Regions from separate parts of the Homo sapiens genome. Here all the other regions are linked to region 1. Evidence: promoter capture Hi-C in 16 types of primary human blood cells and fetal thymus (Javierre and others, 2016). All regions are on one chromosome and are shown on one strand. Each heading gives the region's core, a stretch centred on a gene start or on the middle of the fragment in contact. The rest is flanking DNA. Distances are from core to core; before and after follow the strand shown. Region 1 holds the start of EHD3 (EH domain containing 3). Region 2 overlaps LOC124907749 (a long non-coding RNA gene). Region 3 holds the start of LBH (LBH regulator of Wnt signaling pathway). Region 4 overlaps YPEL5 (yippee like 5).

What was found. Contacts are between HindIII fragments. The CHiCAGO score rates a contact against its expected background, and 5 or more counts as called.
Region 2: a contact is called between a fragment that was not itself captured here and the fragment with the promoter of EHD3 in region 1, in 1 of 17 cell types (M0 macrophages). The highest score is 5.8, in M0 macrophages.
Region 3: the fragment with the promoter of LBH here is called in contact with the fragment with the promoter of EHD3 in region 1 in 1 of 17 cell types (total B cells); the score reaches 5.1 in total B cells.
Region 4: a fragment that was not itself captured here is called in contact with the fragment with the promoter of EHD3 in region 1 in 1 of 17 cell types (total B cells); the score reaches 6.9 in total B cells.

Annotation. Positions count from the first base shown.
Region 1 is chr2:31,232,651-31,236,266 of GRCh38, reverse strand. It overlaps EHD3 (EH domain containing 3), which reads right to left and starts at 2,115. Exons shown (of 6, transcript NM_014600.3): 1 at 1,419-2,115. The coding sequence starts at 1,645. It also overlaps a transcript of CAPN14 not described here. The HindIII fragment of the contact is 24,555 bases long and covers 1-3,616 here.
Region 2 is chr2:30,200,609-30,204,192 of GRCh38, reverse strand. LOC124907749 (a long non-coding RNA gene) reads right to left here. Exons shown (of 2, transcript XR_007086267.1): 2 at 1,953-3,584. Among named protein-coding and RNA genes, the nearest start is that of SNORA10B, 15 kb to the right of the region's middle. The HindIII fragment of the contact is 262 bases long and covers 2,026-2,287 here.
Region 3 is chr2:30,230,063-30,233,634 of GRCh38, reverse strand. LBH (LBH regulator of Wnt signaling pathway) reads right to left here and starts at 2,101. Exons shown (of 3, transcript NM_030915.4): 1 at 1,871-2,101. The coding sequence starts at 1,896. RefSeq lists silencers at 1,102-1,161, 1,172-1,371, 1,762-1,851, 2,052-2,601 and enhancers at 2,405-2,919, 2,920-3,435. The HindIII fragment of the contact is 3,135 bases long and covers 555-3,572 here.
Region 4 is chr2:30,159,919-30,163,494 of GRCh38, reverse strand. It overlaps YPEL5 (yippee like 5), which reads right to left. Exons shown (of 3, transcript NM_016061.3): 3 at 2,962-3,576. Among named protein-coding and RNA genes, the nearest start is that of YPEL5, 15 kb to the right of the region's middle. The HindIII fragment of the contact is 1,456 bases long and covers 1,001-2,456 here.

The sequences.
Region 1 (3,616 bases), core at 866-3,365:
TCACTTGGCCTCTTAAAGCTGCTGAGCCCTAGGCTGTGCACTCCACAAGGACAAACTCAATGTGGTGTTGTGTTTAGACATGACCTATTAGCATGGTGCTACTTCCAGAAGGCTGGCGTTACAAGGTGGATGTTAGAGAAAATTAGTACCTAGAAAATTAGTAACTAGACTGTTAACTTTTCTGCACTCCTCACCAAACAAAGCACAGCATTTCACATGCTGTGGATGCTCAAACAGCCAAGGAATAGGAATAAGGGTACCCCTGCTTTCCAAACCCTCTGCAGGAGATGAGCACACTTGACTTTGGGGGGCCACCAAACTCCATTCTCAAGCTGTGGGAGCCTGAGTCTTAAGACAGAGGGCCACAGCATTCTCAACAATTTGGAATGGCTATAAAAGGGGCCAAGAAAATGGCTGGCCTTGAAGTTGGGAAGATTGAGGACTGGAGTGAAGCCTGTTCTCTAAAGATAAGAAGGGCCTCTGGTGGACTTCTCTGAATGCAGGGTGAACAAATTGACTTCTTGAGCCTCCCTCCAGCCCAAGGATTCTGTAATTGAAGGGAATGGATGACTCATTCTCAGAGTTACAGGCGTTTAGCCAAGCATCTCCTCACATGCATCTAGGACTTAACATCCCAGGTCTGCTGCCCACTCTTTAGATGGCTCTGCACAATTCATTTAACTTCTCTGCGCCTCGGTTATCTCACCTGCAAACTCAGCAACTGGATGAGACAATGCCAATATCCCTTCCATCTCTAAGCGTCTTTAATATTATTATTAAGCCATTAAGATCAAATAAGAGAAAGGGGAAAAAAAAAGCATTCTGCTTCTGGACTCAGCTTCTGTTGAGTCTCCAAGATATATACACAGGAGCTCTGCTTTAGAGAAGGAAATGATAAAAGGAGGACAAGTAGCATCCCCAGGCCACCTCCGTTCCCAGGCCCGCACCCATCAGAACTCAGCTGCAACTGTGAGGCCCCCATGTGAGTGCCAAGCCCCTTGAAAAACAAGGGAAGAGGTTTTGCCCGTGAATGATGTGTTGCTAAAAAGTGAAGACGTAAGACATCCCCACCAACATAAGGCGCTCCAGAGACCAGGAGCTCTTCCATTGTGCCTCCTGGGCCTCGGTTTCATCATCCATAAGATGGGGAGACTGGGAATGGCTTTACACTTGAATACTTCAGGTTGACCACCACAGCCAAGGGCCAAGTAGAGTGGACAGGTATTGGGTAGGATGGGAAGGGGGACCAGCAAAAATTGTGGGGTAAGATTTTGACGCCTGCACAAACACAGATCTCTTCAGAGCCCTCAACTGAAGGCTTCCCATTGGTCCCCTGTCTGGGATGGAGCACCAGGAGTGACCGGAGGGACTAGGCGCTGGGCTCCGGGGTGGGCTGCCAGGACCCTGGGCCGGCTCACCTGATGAAGGTGGTCTTCCCAGTGGAGTACTGGCCCACCAGCAGAACCATGGGCTTGTTGTCGAAGTCGGCATCCTCCAGGGCGGGCGAGTGGAACTCGTGGAAGCGGTAATGCTCTTCCAAGGGCAGCAGCTTGCTCTTGTAGAGTTTCTTGAGCCCCTCACTCACCGTCTGGAAAACCTCGGGGTCCTTCCTCCGGCGGTCGTCCGTACCCAGCCAGCTGAACATCGCGGCCGCCGCTCGCCCCCGGCACGCAGCCCCAGGGGAAGACTCCTCCTCAGGGGAAGATGTCCCGTAGGACCGGTCCGCCGGGCTCCGAGCCGCGCCGCCGCCTCACCCAAGCGCGGGGCTCAGCCGCACCATGGCCCGGGCACGCGGCTAGGAGGGCCGGGAGCGCACTCTCCCTGCTCCTGGGACCAAGCCCAGCCGCTGCTGCATCCAGCAGCCCAGGCCGGAGGGAGGATAAATAATCTGGGCTTGAGGAGGAGGGGTGAAATCTTGGCAATTAAAGTTGAACCTGCAAGGAAACTGCCAGATGCCGGGGTCCCAAGCCGGGGTCCCCGATCGGCCCCCAGCCCTCGCCTGCTCTGCCCTGCGTGCAGCAAGGGATGCTTCGGCTCCGCTCCTGCCGGACCGAGGCGGCTCAGGGGAGACGGCGACGCTGCCCAGCCCGCGGACAGCTCTGCATCCGCAGCAGCATCCTGCAGCCCCAGGCGGTGGTTTAAATGCCAGCTGGGCAGGAAGCCGGCGCGCAGAGGAAGTCCCCTAGTACTGGCAAGGCAGGGCCGGCCCCACGGTTGCGGCGACGGGAAGCCGCGCAGGGCGCCGCCATGTTTGTGGGCAGGCGCTCAGCTCTAGACCTGCGGCCGCGCGGGGAGAGGGATGCTGACCCAGTCCAGTGGGAGAGTGCCGGTGTCTCAGTCTCCGCCTCTGGGGCTTCGATTTGGGAACAGCGCCCTCTCAGGGACGGCTGCGAGGACAGAGTTGACCTATTCATCACACTCCCTGCTTTGAATCGCCTCTCCTTCAGTTGCTGAGGTCAATTCCCTAGGAAAACAGGTACTCTAGTATTGGGGGATTTTTTTTTTTTTTGGCATAGAAAGGGGATCCACTATCAGGTTACACAAAATAACCAAAACTGTCACTACCCAAACTTTTAGCTAGGCTTAGGGTGAAGTCAAAATCGTTCCCATTTACTTATTCATTCATTCCAGCAAAACAAAACAAGCCAAGAAGCAAAATCCCTGCAAGTATTGGGAATTTATTATGGGGCAGTTACAATTTTGGTGACTGTGGATACAGAGATGAGTGCTGAACAGACTCTCCCTTCCAGGAACTCCAGTGAAGGCAGGCTTTAAAGAGGAGGCATGAGCAGAGGGTCATGGGAATACAGGGAGGAGTCACTCCTTTTGTGTGGCTAATTTGAGGAAGGCTTCATGGAAAGCATGACTGTAAGCTGGATCCTAAATGATGAATTGACATCCATTGTTCTAGGAGCGTAAGGAGTATTTGCAAAGGCTTGAGGAACTTGGTGTGTCCAAGGCAGAGTAAACAGTTTGGCATAGCTGGAGTGTAGGGTTTAGGAAGGTGAAAGAGAGTGAGGGAGGCCAAGCATGAAAGGCTTTGCCAGAGATGGGGAACCAATAGCAATGCTATTACTAATCATTGTTACATTAACAAAATGCTCAGCATGTGCAGGGGCCTGGGCTAAGTTCTCAGTGAACATTGCTTTATTTAACCTTCATGGCAGATCATATTATCTCCAGCATCATACTAAGGAGAGTGAGTGGGAACACTGTCCAGGTGTAGGCAAAAGCAGTGCATCGTGTGTAGAGAATTTAAACCCAATAATAAACTTGCTGAAAGTTGATGTGCTTTGTATTGGCACCATTCTAAACAGTGTAGTGATAAAACACTCCTCCCTGCCCAGGCTAATGACTCCCACTACCCTCCCTTCCACAGATGAAGAAGGAGTAGGCTATGGACCAGGCAGGAACTGGAATGCCAAGAGCAGTGTTGGAGGGGCAAAAGAGGTTGGGGGTTGATATGGTTTTGCTTTGTGTCCCCGCATAAATCTCATCTCTAATTGTAATCCCCATAATCCCCATGCGTTTAGGGAGAGAGCTGGTGGGAGGAGATTGGATCATAGGGACAGTTTCATTCATGCTGTTCTCATGATAGTGAGTGAGTTCTCGTGAG
Region 2 (3,584 bases), core at 907-3,406, 1.0 Mb after region 1:
TTTCTTTTTCTTTCTTTCTTTTTTTTTTTTTTTTTTTTGAGCTGGAATTTTGCTCTGTCGCTCAGGCTGGAGTGCAATGGTACAATCTCAGCTCACTGCAACCTCCACCTCGCAGGTTCAAGCAATTCTCCTGCCTCAGCCTCCCGGGTAGCTGGGATTACAAGTGCCTGCCACCACGCCTGGCTAATTTTTGGTATTTTTAGTAGAGACGGGGTTTTACAATGTTAGCTAGGCTTGTCTCAAACTCCTGACCTCAGGTGATCCACCTGCCTCAGCCTCCCAAAGTGCTGGGATTACAAGCATGAGCTACTGTGCCTAGCCAAGTCTCAGTTTTTGAATTAATTAGTCCCAAAACCTTAAGCAAATCCCATCATTTACTGTGGCGTTGGTTTGTTTATTTTTTTGAATGAGAATATTAATAAGCCTTCTTTGTATTGTAAAGTGCCTGGCACACAGCAAATCGCCAATGGATTCTAGTTTTCTTCCTTCTTCCTTTTCAAATGAAGGGACTGGCCTTGGTACTGAGGCGTAAGTCATGAAGGTTTAAGATCGTATTACTGGCCCTCAAGTAGACTGACCATTCTCAGGCCAGGATTAAGATGCAGGGAGCCAAGGGCACCTCCAGCAGAGCTCCTGAGTCAATCAATGGCCACGTAGTTTTGTTCTCCACACCCAAGTGCAATTCCTCATCGGCTTCCTTGGCTCTCAGCTCTGTATACCCTTCTCCTCCATTTAGCCCAAGGACCTCCAAGGAGACAGGCTCACCTTGGCCCAGATGCAGTTTACTTTTCTCTGCTCTGAATTCTAGCCAAGAGTGAAAATCAAATGTACCAGCCTTGGGAACATCAGTTCCTCAGCCCCCTGGCAGCATTCCCAGCCTAGAGGGAAATGAAACCCCTAAGAGGAGCGTGTTCCGGGAGCCAGGACAAGAATGGTCCCTGGACTCCGCCATGTCTTCTCCAGCCTGCATCTCCTCTCTCCAGCCAGGAGAACACACCTCAAGAGTGGTCACGGAGGGTCTGAGCAATTCGGTAGAGAGGGGCCCTGGGCTAGGGTTCCCTGGCGTCCAGAACTGAATGCCTGGACTTCTGTTTCACTGAGCATTTCTTTCCCGACCTAGTACCAGTAAAACAAAAGCAGACCTGTTCCTGGCTTAAACATCAGGAGTAGAGATAAACATTGTCTTCCTTTAGATATTCTTCCCGAGATGTTTGGATTGTAGTTCCTTTTATGGATAAAACTTTAAATGCTGGTGCTCTTTAACCCAGCAATTCCATCTTCCTGAGGACAGATTCAAGGATCTGAACAAAGATGTACACAGATGTTCATGACATTGCCACTTATAATAATAAAAAATTGAAGACAGAATAATGTCCAACAATTGGGAAGCAGTTAAATAAATTATGATATATCTTTATGATGGGCAATTATACCCATTAGAGTGATGTTTTCCAAGAATTTTAATGGCTGGGAATATATAAGAATCTTGTGAAGAGAAAAGTGGGATTCAGAACTACATAAACTAATTATATAATACACGTGTGTATAATATATACACCCATGTAGAATAATATGATATGCATATGTATACATTTATAATATATAATGGAAAAATATGTGAAAGAAAAAACCATAAATATTAACAGTCCCTATCTGTGGATTATTTAATTATAGTTTTATTTGTTTCCTTATTTAATCTTTTCTATATTTTCCATGTTTTCTTGTCAGAATTTAAAAATATACTTGATAGGGGAGAAATGTTTGTTTGAATAAAAGGGACACAATTAAACTCCATCAATCAGTACCCATCATGAAGGGTACAGGTGACTCCATGAATTTGCAGAAAGAATTTTGAAAAGAACACTAAGAGCCCAGGATATCAGGCAGACGTAAAATCTAGCTTTTAGTGTCTCCCCCATATCAGTTTTGGTTGCATAACAAAATCATGTGACTAAGAACAACAATAATTTATTCAGTTCCTGATTCTGGGCTTAGCTGGGAGGTCCTTTCAGTCTGGGCTAAGCTTGGCTGTTGTTCCCTGGACACACTCACTTGTCTGGGGCCTCAGCCAGGATGATCTGGGGCCTCTCTCCATGTAGTGTCTTTTCTTTTAGGCTTGTCCCATGTGGCAAAACTAGATTTTAAGAGAGAACTGAAGCTATAAAGTCTCTTGAGGGCTATGCTCAAAACTGGTGAGCTGTCACTTGCATGGCATTCCAAAGCAAGTCACAGGCCAGCCCAGACTCAAGGGGTGAGAAATAGACTCCGTCTCTTGACGGGAGAAGCTTAGGGTACTTCGACCTTGTTGGCAGATTACAATATTCTTGTTCAGTGAAACTCCATTTCCATGAAAATAGCTCTTGATAAGATGAAAGTTTTTAAAAAACGTAATGTCAAATCTTGAAATCATCTGTGGTAACTTATACCTAAATAGTATTAGTCTGTGGTTGTCACCTTTTCTTTTTTTAACCAAGCAGGGCCTAGTCCATTAGTGCTGATGGATTTGTTACATGAGTTAAAGTGGTGTGTATATAAAATATTTGTAATAGTGCCTGGCAAATACTAATCACTATCAAAATATTAGTTATCATTATTGTTAATGTTGATTTTTATACATAATCTGTGGTGAACTCAAATTCTAAACGGAGTTTGGGGTAGAGAGGGGCTATTTCTGCTGCCTGTAAGAAGTGCATCCCTGGCCGGGAATGGTGGCTGATGCCTGTAATCCCAGCACTTTGGGAGGCCAAGGTGGGCAGATTATGAGGTCAGGAGTTTGAGACCAGCCTGGCCAACACAGTGAAACCCCGTCTCCACTAAAAATACAAAAAGTTAGCTGGACATAATGGTAGGCACCTGTAATCCCAGCTACTTGGGAGGCTGAGGCAGGAGAATTGCTTGAACACAGGAAGTGGAGGTTGCAGTGAGCCAAGATTGTGCCATTGCACTCCAGCCCGGGTAACAGTGCAAGACTCTGTCTCAAAAAAAAAAAAAAAAAAAAGAAGTACATTCCAATAACCCCTGCTCTCAGCCACGTTTGGAGACGCTCAGATGTCTATATGCATTCTTGGCTCCATTCCCTTCCCGCAGGGACCAGGTTTTTGCTGGGAATACAAGTCTATCCTCAAAGAGATTTGTGTCTATAGCAAGACAGCCCTCCGCCTGGAGCCCTGGATTTTTACCCACACCAGCACACACTTGCATCATTTGCTGCTAGCCCTAAAGGCAGGGAAAGACATGAGCAGTAGAACTGAAGGGGCCAGGGAGACCTCCAACCCTGCTGTACACTTGTGTAAGCTTGGCCACATTCCTATGGGAGAGGCTATCCTTACGTGAGTTTGGTGCCTATGTACATCACTTTAACCAGAAATACTAAGGAATTTTCAGAATTCCCTTTCTTGTACTGTTCTAGGCTAGGGTTGGCCATAAGAGGAGTTCATGAGATTTGGAAGTGGAAGTGAAATAGCAGCCATTTCTATGCTCTGAAGGTTGATGTGGGCTCAAGCACACAATTGCTGGTCTCCTGGCCACCTTGTGAGCGTGAAACAGCAGCTGAGTCCACAGCCCTTATTGGTCTTGTCGAATCT
Region 3 (3,572 bases), core at 852-3,351, 1.0 Mb after region 1:
GGATACGAATATTCCCTTATCCTTGCACAAACTCTGGGCACATACAGGATCCCGTGCACATAATGCTGAACATAAGCACCAAATACAGGTACCTGCTACACAGCACCCAATGCTTTCCACCATCGTGCCTGTGCACATGGTTTAAAACAAAAATATGGGGGAGTCTTTTGAGGGACAGTATCTAAGGAAACAGGGGTACCAGATGCCTCTTCAATTGTATGGTTACTACATAGATAAGAAATGACACTGGATTTAGAAACAGAAGCAATAGGTTCTAGGCTCTGCCCCTCAAGAACTGTGTGATCTTGAACAGGTCCTGTAACTTCTCTGAGCCACAAGTGTCCTGTTTGTCTGTTACTCTGATGCTAATAGTGCATACCTCACAGTTAGGTTAAGGGCTAATGTCTGCATAAAAGCATTGCAAGCTGCAAAGTGCTAATCGATGAAATAAACTTAAACCTTAATTTCTCATAATATTCTTAATGGGTCCAAACACCCACCTTGGCAAATTTTGAGCAGCCAAAGGCACAAAGCCTCCAACAGCCTTCAAAGCTTCACCTATAATAAGGCACCTAGCTGCTCACACACCACGGGAGAGGCAAGGGAGGGGCACCCACAAGAAGGGTACACAAGCCTCGGGGTGGGGGAACTTGAACTGTTGAGAGAGGGAAGTTCAGTCCCCTCTCTAAACACTGCCAGGCTGGGACGGATGGGGGCAGGGAGACTAACAGAAGATGCGGGGCTTTGCGGCAAGTTTAGGTTCGGGAGCTGGGCCCTGCAAAGGCAGTTTCCTCCCGGGTCTTGGAAAGGCTGCTGGCGACCTCCAAAGAAAGGAGCCAGAAGAGCGCACGCAGGGTGAAGAGTCTGACGTAGGGGCGGCTCTTCCTCGCTCGGGGCTGTGGCGCCGGCCCGAAAAGTTGAAGCGAGAAGCATGAACTTTCCGCTTCTTGGGCCAGGCCGGACCCCGCCGCGGCTTGCGCCGGTTTTCCCTTCGCTCAGCGCCTGCCGGAGACTCGGGGCCGAGCTCCCCACGTCCGCACCTGAGAGCGCGCTCCGGGGCTGCCGGCGCTCGCCCCCGGCCGCTTCTCCTCTAACCCAGAGCAGGAAGGAAGAAACTGCCAGCAAGGAAGTCCCAGCAGTCAGGGGCCTGCCTCTCTCTGCATCCCTCCCGGCTCCGATCCCCAGTCCGGGGCAAACCTCCGACGCCCCGCGCCCGGCCCGGGCTCCTTCCCCTTCAGCACGGCGAAGGCGGCTCCTCCCAGTCCCGGCCCCCACCAATGTGCGTCGGTTTTTAGGGGCGGTGGAGAGGGCAGGGGTTGAGAGGCTGCAGCGCGTGCCCTGCTGCTTGTGGCTTTAGTGGGGTTACGTGTGGGGAGAGCGTTTCCCGCCCCCCACCCCCCCGGAGCTCTGCAAACCCTGCGGCCGCACCAGCTCAGCCCCGCTGCTGCCGGCCTCGACGTTGAGACTTGCATGCAAACAAAAAGAAAAAGAGGAGGGGCCCGGGAAGAGCAGGAGCCCCCCTGCGCCAAGTGGGGCGCGCGCCTCCTGCAGCTCTCCGCATAGGGTGGTTTCATTGGGGGGGATTCACACGTGACCCCTGGCTCCCCCGCCAACCAATACAAACCCTCCGGCCGTCACTTAGGTGAGGGCTCCGAGTTCACGTCCTTTGTCTGGATGTTCTCAGCACCCCCTCCCCCCACCCCCACCTTTGCAACCTTGACGTTGACTCCTGCACGGGCTCGGGCGGCGGGTTAGCGCTGAGCGCCCGCGCCGCCGGCTGCCCTCGCACCCGGAGCCGGCACGAAGCAGGCGCCCGGGCCCGCAGCCACCGCCGCGAGACAGACGCCCGCCGCAGGCGCAGGGTACTCACCAGTGAATGGGGAAATATATAGACATGAAGTCCTAGGGCAGGCTGACACACGCCCCTGTGATTTAAAAACGGTCCCTGCGTCCCGAGTGAGGATGACACGGGCGCAGACGGGCACGGCAGGCGGCCGAGTGCGGACACCGGGCGCTCGCCGTCCGCCTTCCCAGGACAGCCCCACGGCTAGCGACGTCGGCAAGGTGGACACAACTCCCCGCTCTCCACTGAGCACTCAGCCCCACAAAGAGCCCGGGAAGCCGTATTTATAGGGGCGGGGGCGGGGCTTGGCCCCGAGAGGCCCCGCCCTCCCTCGCCCACTCCTGGAATAACGTCACCAAAATCATGAATGGCTTCAGCGCTCGCAGCTCCGGCGGGCGGCGGCTCGGGGGCGCGCTCGGCTCTGCTCCCGGGGCCGTGGTTCGCTGCGGCTGCGAGCCCGGCCCCCTCCCGCCGCTCTCCCACGCGCACACGCGCTCACTCGCACCGGCCCGGACTCCGCGTCCGCGCCGCTTCCCGCTCACAGCCCCCTCCACGCACACCCCGAACTCCAGCGCGGCGGAGGTGGGCGCAAGGAGGGCGCGGGGGCCGCTCGGGACATGACAGCTCGGCGGCTGCTCTGCGCCGGGGTAGGGCACCCGCCACTCCTCCACCCCAGCCGCCCGGCGCCAGCGCCCTCCTTCCCATCCACTGGCTGTCCCCAGCCCACCTCGGACCCCTCTGAAGCGTTTGTTCCCCATACTAGGCCTCTCTCTGGAATCCTCGCCCGCAGCCTTGCGATCAGCGAGGGGAAACAAGAGCATGGTTAAAGAAGAAGCGGTGGGAAGGTGGCAGAGACGCGGAGCCGGGGGACCGAGTGCCCACGGGGCGCGTTGGCTTGCGAAGGGCTGGTCTGCAGCCCTGAGTTCCGTGGAAGGTTTTATTTGTGGGAGCAAGGATGTGGTGTCGTCCTGGGTAGGATTTTTCCATTGGAGACACACATACGCCCGGTCTGCAGCGGGGGCAGAAGGTGTGGGCGGGCGGTGTGCACGCCGCCCCCCATCCTTGACTCCCACGTCTTCTCCGAGGAGTCGCTCATGACAGCAGAAACAAAGAGCTTTAGCCGAACGCCTCCCACACTGCCCAGGAATTGCAGCTCTGGGCGTCTGTCCAGGCAGTCAAAGCTGCGCAGCCCCCCAGAGCCACATGATGGGAGTCTCACTCGGGACCCAGCGCTGCCGCTCTGTGGCCTCCGCTTCAATCACGCCTGTAAAATGGCTTTAGAACCCTCACCTACCTGTGTATAGGGGCTGAGGAAAGGGGGCGCGGGGAGATCAAAAACTAAGCAAAATTAAATTGGCTTTGAAGTGAATCAGCTTTTTAAAAGAAAGGCAGTGAGTGTATTGAATCCGTATATATGTACTTGAAAGTGGAAACGCATAGCTTATCTCAGGCAAAAGGATGACAGAATTAATGGCGAAGGTTCGACAGGGGTAGGACCCTGAAGGAAGCCGTGAGAGAAGACCCTCATAATTTTCATCAGTCCCCGCAAAACCAGCCCAAACAAAAATTATAAGAATTGATGAGAATAATTTATTTAAAAATAACTGGGCTATTTTCAATCACTTATATGCTTATATGTACAACCTGAGTTAAAATAGTGTGCTTCCTATGAAAACACAGCTTCATGACAAGCCCCTGGCTGCCCCCTCCAACCAGAGAAATTCCCCCA
Region 4 (3,576 bases), core at 479-2,978, 1.1 Mb after region 1:
TGTCATCTGCCCGCCTCGGCCTCCCAAAGTGCTGGGATCATAGGCGTGAGCCACTGTGCCCGGCCGAAGATATGTCTTTATATTTTACATGTAGCAGTCTTCCCAGAAACTAGATGCCTCTTTCCCAGGGACTCTTCTGCTCCTTAAAGCCAGTTTATCTAATTGGTGTATTAATCCATTTTAAGACACTTTTTAAAGCAGATGGAAAGCCATATTAATCTGTTTTTTTTTTTCTTACCCATACTTCTTAGCCTATCAGCCTCTTGTGACATAGGCTTTTATCAGGTGGTAACATACCACAACTGTATTTTCAATAACCCTTTGAATAATGATTCTCATGTATTAGCAGATGTTTTGTAGCAGCAAGGTTGTATGAGGTGCCCATGAAAATGGGGCTCTCTTAACTATAGCACTGGCCATGACACGGGTAATGGGCATACATGGTGGGTGACTATCGGGGTCATCATAAAGCCAGTCCCACATGGCTTGCACATGAAGTATATTAGCTGCTTTATCTTGGGTGTTCTGCTTGGCATTTATAGGGGAAGTTGGACAGTCCCCATTCTCAGGGTAAACAGATCTTACAGTGGCTTTTTAAATCCAGTCCCCCAGACTAGCTGTTCCTCAAGAATAACCTCCTATGTGTCTGGATCATGTTTAGCCATCTGCAATCTTTCAATAGTGAGCTGTGGGTCCTCCATCAACCCAAACATTTCTTCCATTCTGCAGCATTTAAAACAAAAGATACTGCCCCTAAATTACTCTCATAGTCCATTTTAGTAAAGGTTCCTCAGGAAACTAATGATATGGATCTATGAAATGTAACAAATCCTTGTACATTATACCTTCTGGTTTCAAGTTACTTGGTTTTGCCTTTCCCCGACATTGACTACCTTCTTGGTAACCACAGATCTGAGAGGTATTTTGTTGTTGCTGCTTAACTTTGCCCTTGTGGGTAGCTCTGAGGCTAGTGGCTGAAGCTCAGCCTGAAACCTAAGCTTGGTGCAGCATCAAAGTTGGACCCAGCACTCTGTTTCATTTTAGCTATTATAGATAATAACCAAGGGATTGTAGAGTTCACTTTTCTTATTAGCTTGCATTTCCTTATGCATCCAGTCAATCACCTCTCTACGAGTTGGATCTATCTCTAAATTTTACTGGTAGTAACTGAGTGCAGCTGCAGCTCTATACCATGGGTGGCCATGTGGCCACCCAGGAATCAAAGGTTTCTGACCCATCACATTTCCATCATTTTTCTTGTCCACCTTTCTAAGCCAGGGCCCTTCTAGCAAATCCCACCTGTCTGATAGCAATCGGTAATCAACTTGACCTGCAGCCCCTTTCCCCTCCCGGGAGGTTGCTCTGTGAGGCTGAAAGCACCTCACCTTTAATCATGCCTGTATCTTTCCCGTGACCAGCTCTACCCTGGCTATCAGTCAATATTAGCATACAAAAAGATAATCATTTGAAAATTCCAAGGATTTTAGGGATTGTATTGCTAGGAAATGGAGACGAAGACCAGGAGACCAAATACGTATTTCACAGTATCAAAGAAACATGTTACTTTTGGAGTTTGGCAAAACAAAAAAACAAAAAAACAAAAAAAAAAAAACTGGATTTTTGGCTCCACCCGAGACCCATTCAGTACTGGGGAAGGGAATGAGAACATAATTGACATGTTTAACAAGCCTCCCAGGTGGTTATGCTGCAGATGATTTTTAAAACCTAAATATGTAAAGTGATGCCTAGGATTATACAACCCTGAACGATGCTTTGGAATGTGTATTTTATGCTTTACCACAGAAATTTCAATTTGAGAAGCCCAATATTTTAAAATAAGCCATACAATTAACACCCAACTTAGAATATCCACCCTAATTTCTGCTTAGTTCTGCTTTCTTCCTATAATAGATCTTATCAGTGCAACGTGCTAGCCTGATAAGAATCCTTCAGTTTAATCTTGCTTTATTCCCAACTCACACAGATTAGAAGTAAATTTATATGGCTCCTGGTAGGAAACAGGTGTTAAACAGATGAACAATTAGTGGATATCTGTTTAAACTGAGATTTTTTTATAACTGATGTTTAGAAATGAATCATCATAAACATGTCTGAATATTTTACAACTGGTAGTTTCTTAATTCTGCCCCACCAAAAATTACCTGTTGACTGACTTAAGCCTGGGCTTGGGCCCAGACTCTGATTTAAACATCCTATATGACTTTATGAGTAGGCAAATTTAGGAAACAGATGGTACTGATATTTTTCTCCTCCAATCCCAAAGTAACAACTCCTAACTGTAACTTAAATCTTCACATAATTACTAAAATTATTTTTACCAGGAATGTTCACTTGAGAGTCTAAATAAAAGCACTTTAAGATCAAAACAACTTACGGTTACTGTCACCTAAGACTAAGAGGAAGAATTTTCCTCTTCGGTCAGGGGAAAAAAAGCTTAAATCTGTATATTCCTCAGTAACCTACTTAGTTCTAAGTTCACCTCTACTTGTTTAACTCTCCCACCCCAAAGCAAAAATCATTCCTATTAATTAGTATCCCCATCTCAAAATAACAATGGTTTTCTGTAAATAATCCAAAGTAGACCTTCCAATATATATTTTTTTTTTTTTTGCAAATGGAAGTTTTTAAAAGGCACAGAGGAGCTTGCTGCTGGTACCTGCCAGTTACCTAAAAGTTAACCTAGTAATATGAAATTTTTTTGTTTATATATACTGAACTATAGTTATCAGTATCTAAGGCAAAATGATCTCAGAGAAGTTAATACTGGCAAAGTCAATGTCTTCATGTGTGAATTAGGCAGTTAATCAAGTCAGACATCACTATCATTGCCAAATGAAGAAAGCTACAGGTACTCAAAGATACCAAGTATGTGTTCAGAGATAAAAATTAAGATGATCACTAGACAAGATCAGTGGAAAATAAGCAGCAGTACTGCATCAATGCAAGACAAAATATACTTTATTGTGACAGCAAATGCACATAGTGCTGTAGGTAAGGCATGCTACTAGGAATCTGCATATAATCAAAAGCCAGTATGGAAATGAATGGAAATGAATGCTGTTGTTCTCAGATTGAGTCCATGGTGGAGAAAGGATAGTTTGTGTCCACTTATTTCAAATGCAGTATCATACCTACTTAATCAGTTACCTATGCTTCTAACCAACAGCCCAGTGGCAAATAGGAGGAACTTAACTGTACTCAGAAGTCACTTTTAATATCAACGACAGAAATATTTCACTAATTCAACTGAGGCAAATTTCCTTTCTAGACAAAGGACCTAGAAATTGAGCATGCAAAACATCCATCCATTCATTCATTCAAATAATTAGCCAATTTTACCGTCATTTAATTCCACCAGAAGCAAATACTAGAATATCTAGAAGTAGTTTGGGTAAAGAAACATTTACATTTTAATATTGTGTAATGTCATAAATTTGGGGCTAAAATAACACCAGGTCAAATTTGATCCCTTTGTATGTGAGGGTACAAAGTACAGTTTTCGTTTCAACAGCTGAACTTCTGAGAGAAGAGCTGAAAAAAATGCTAAATAAGAGA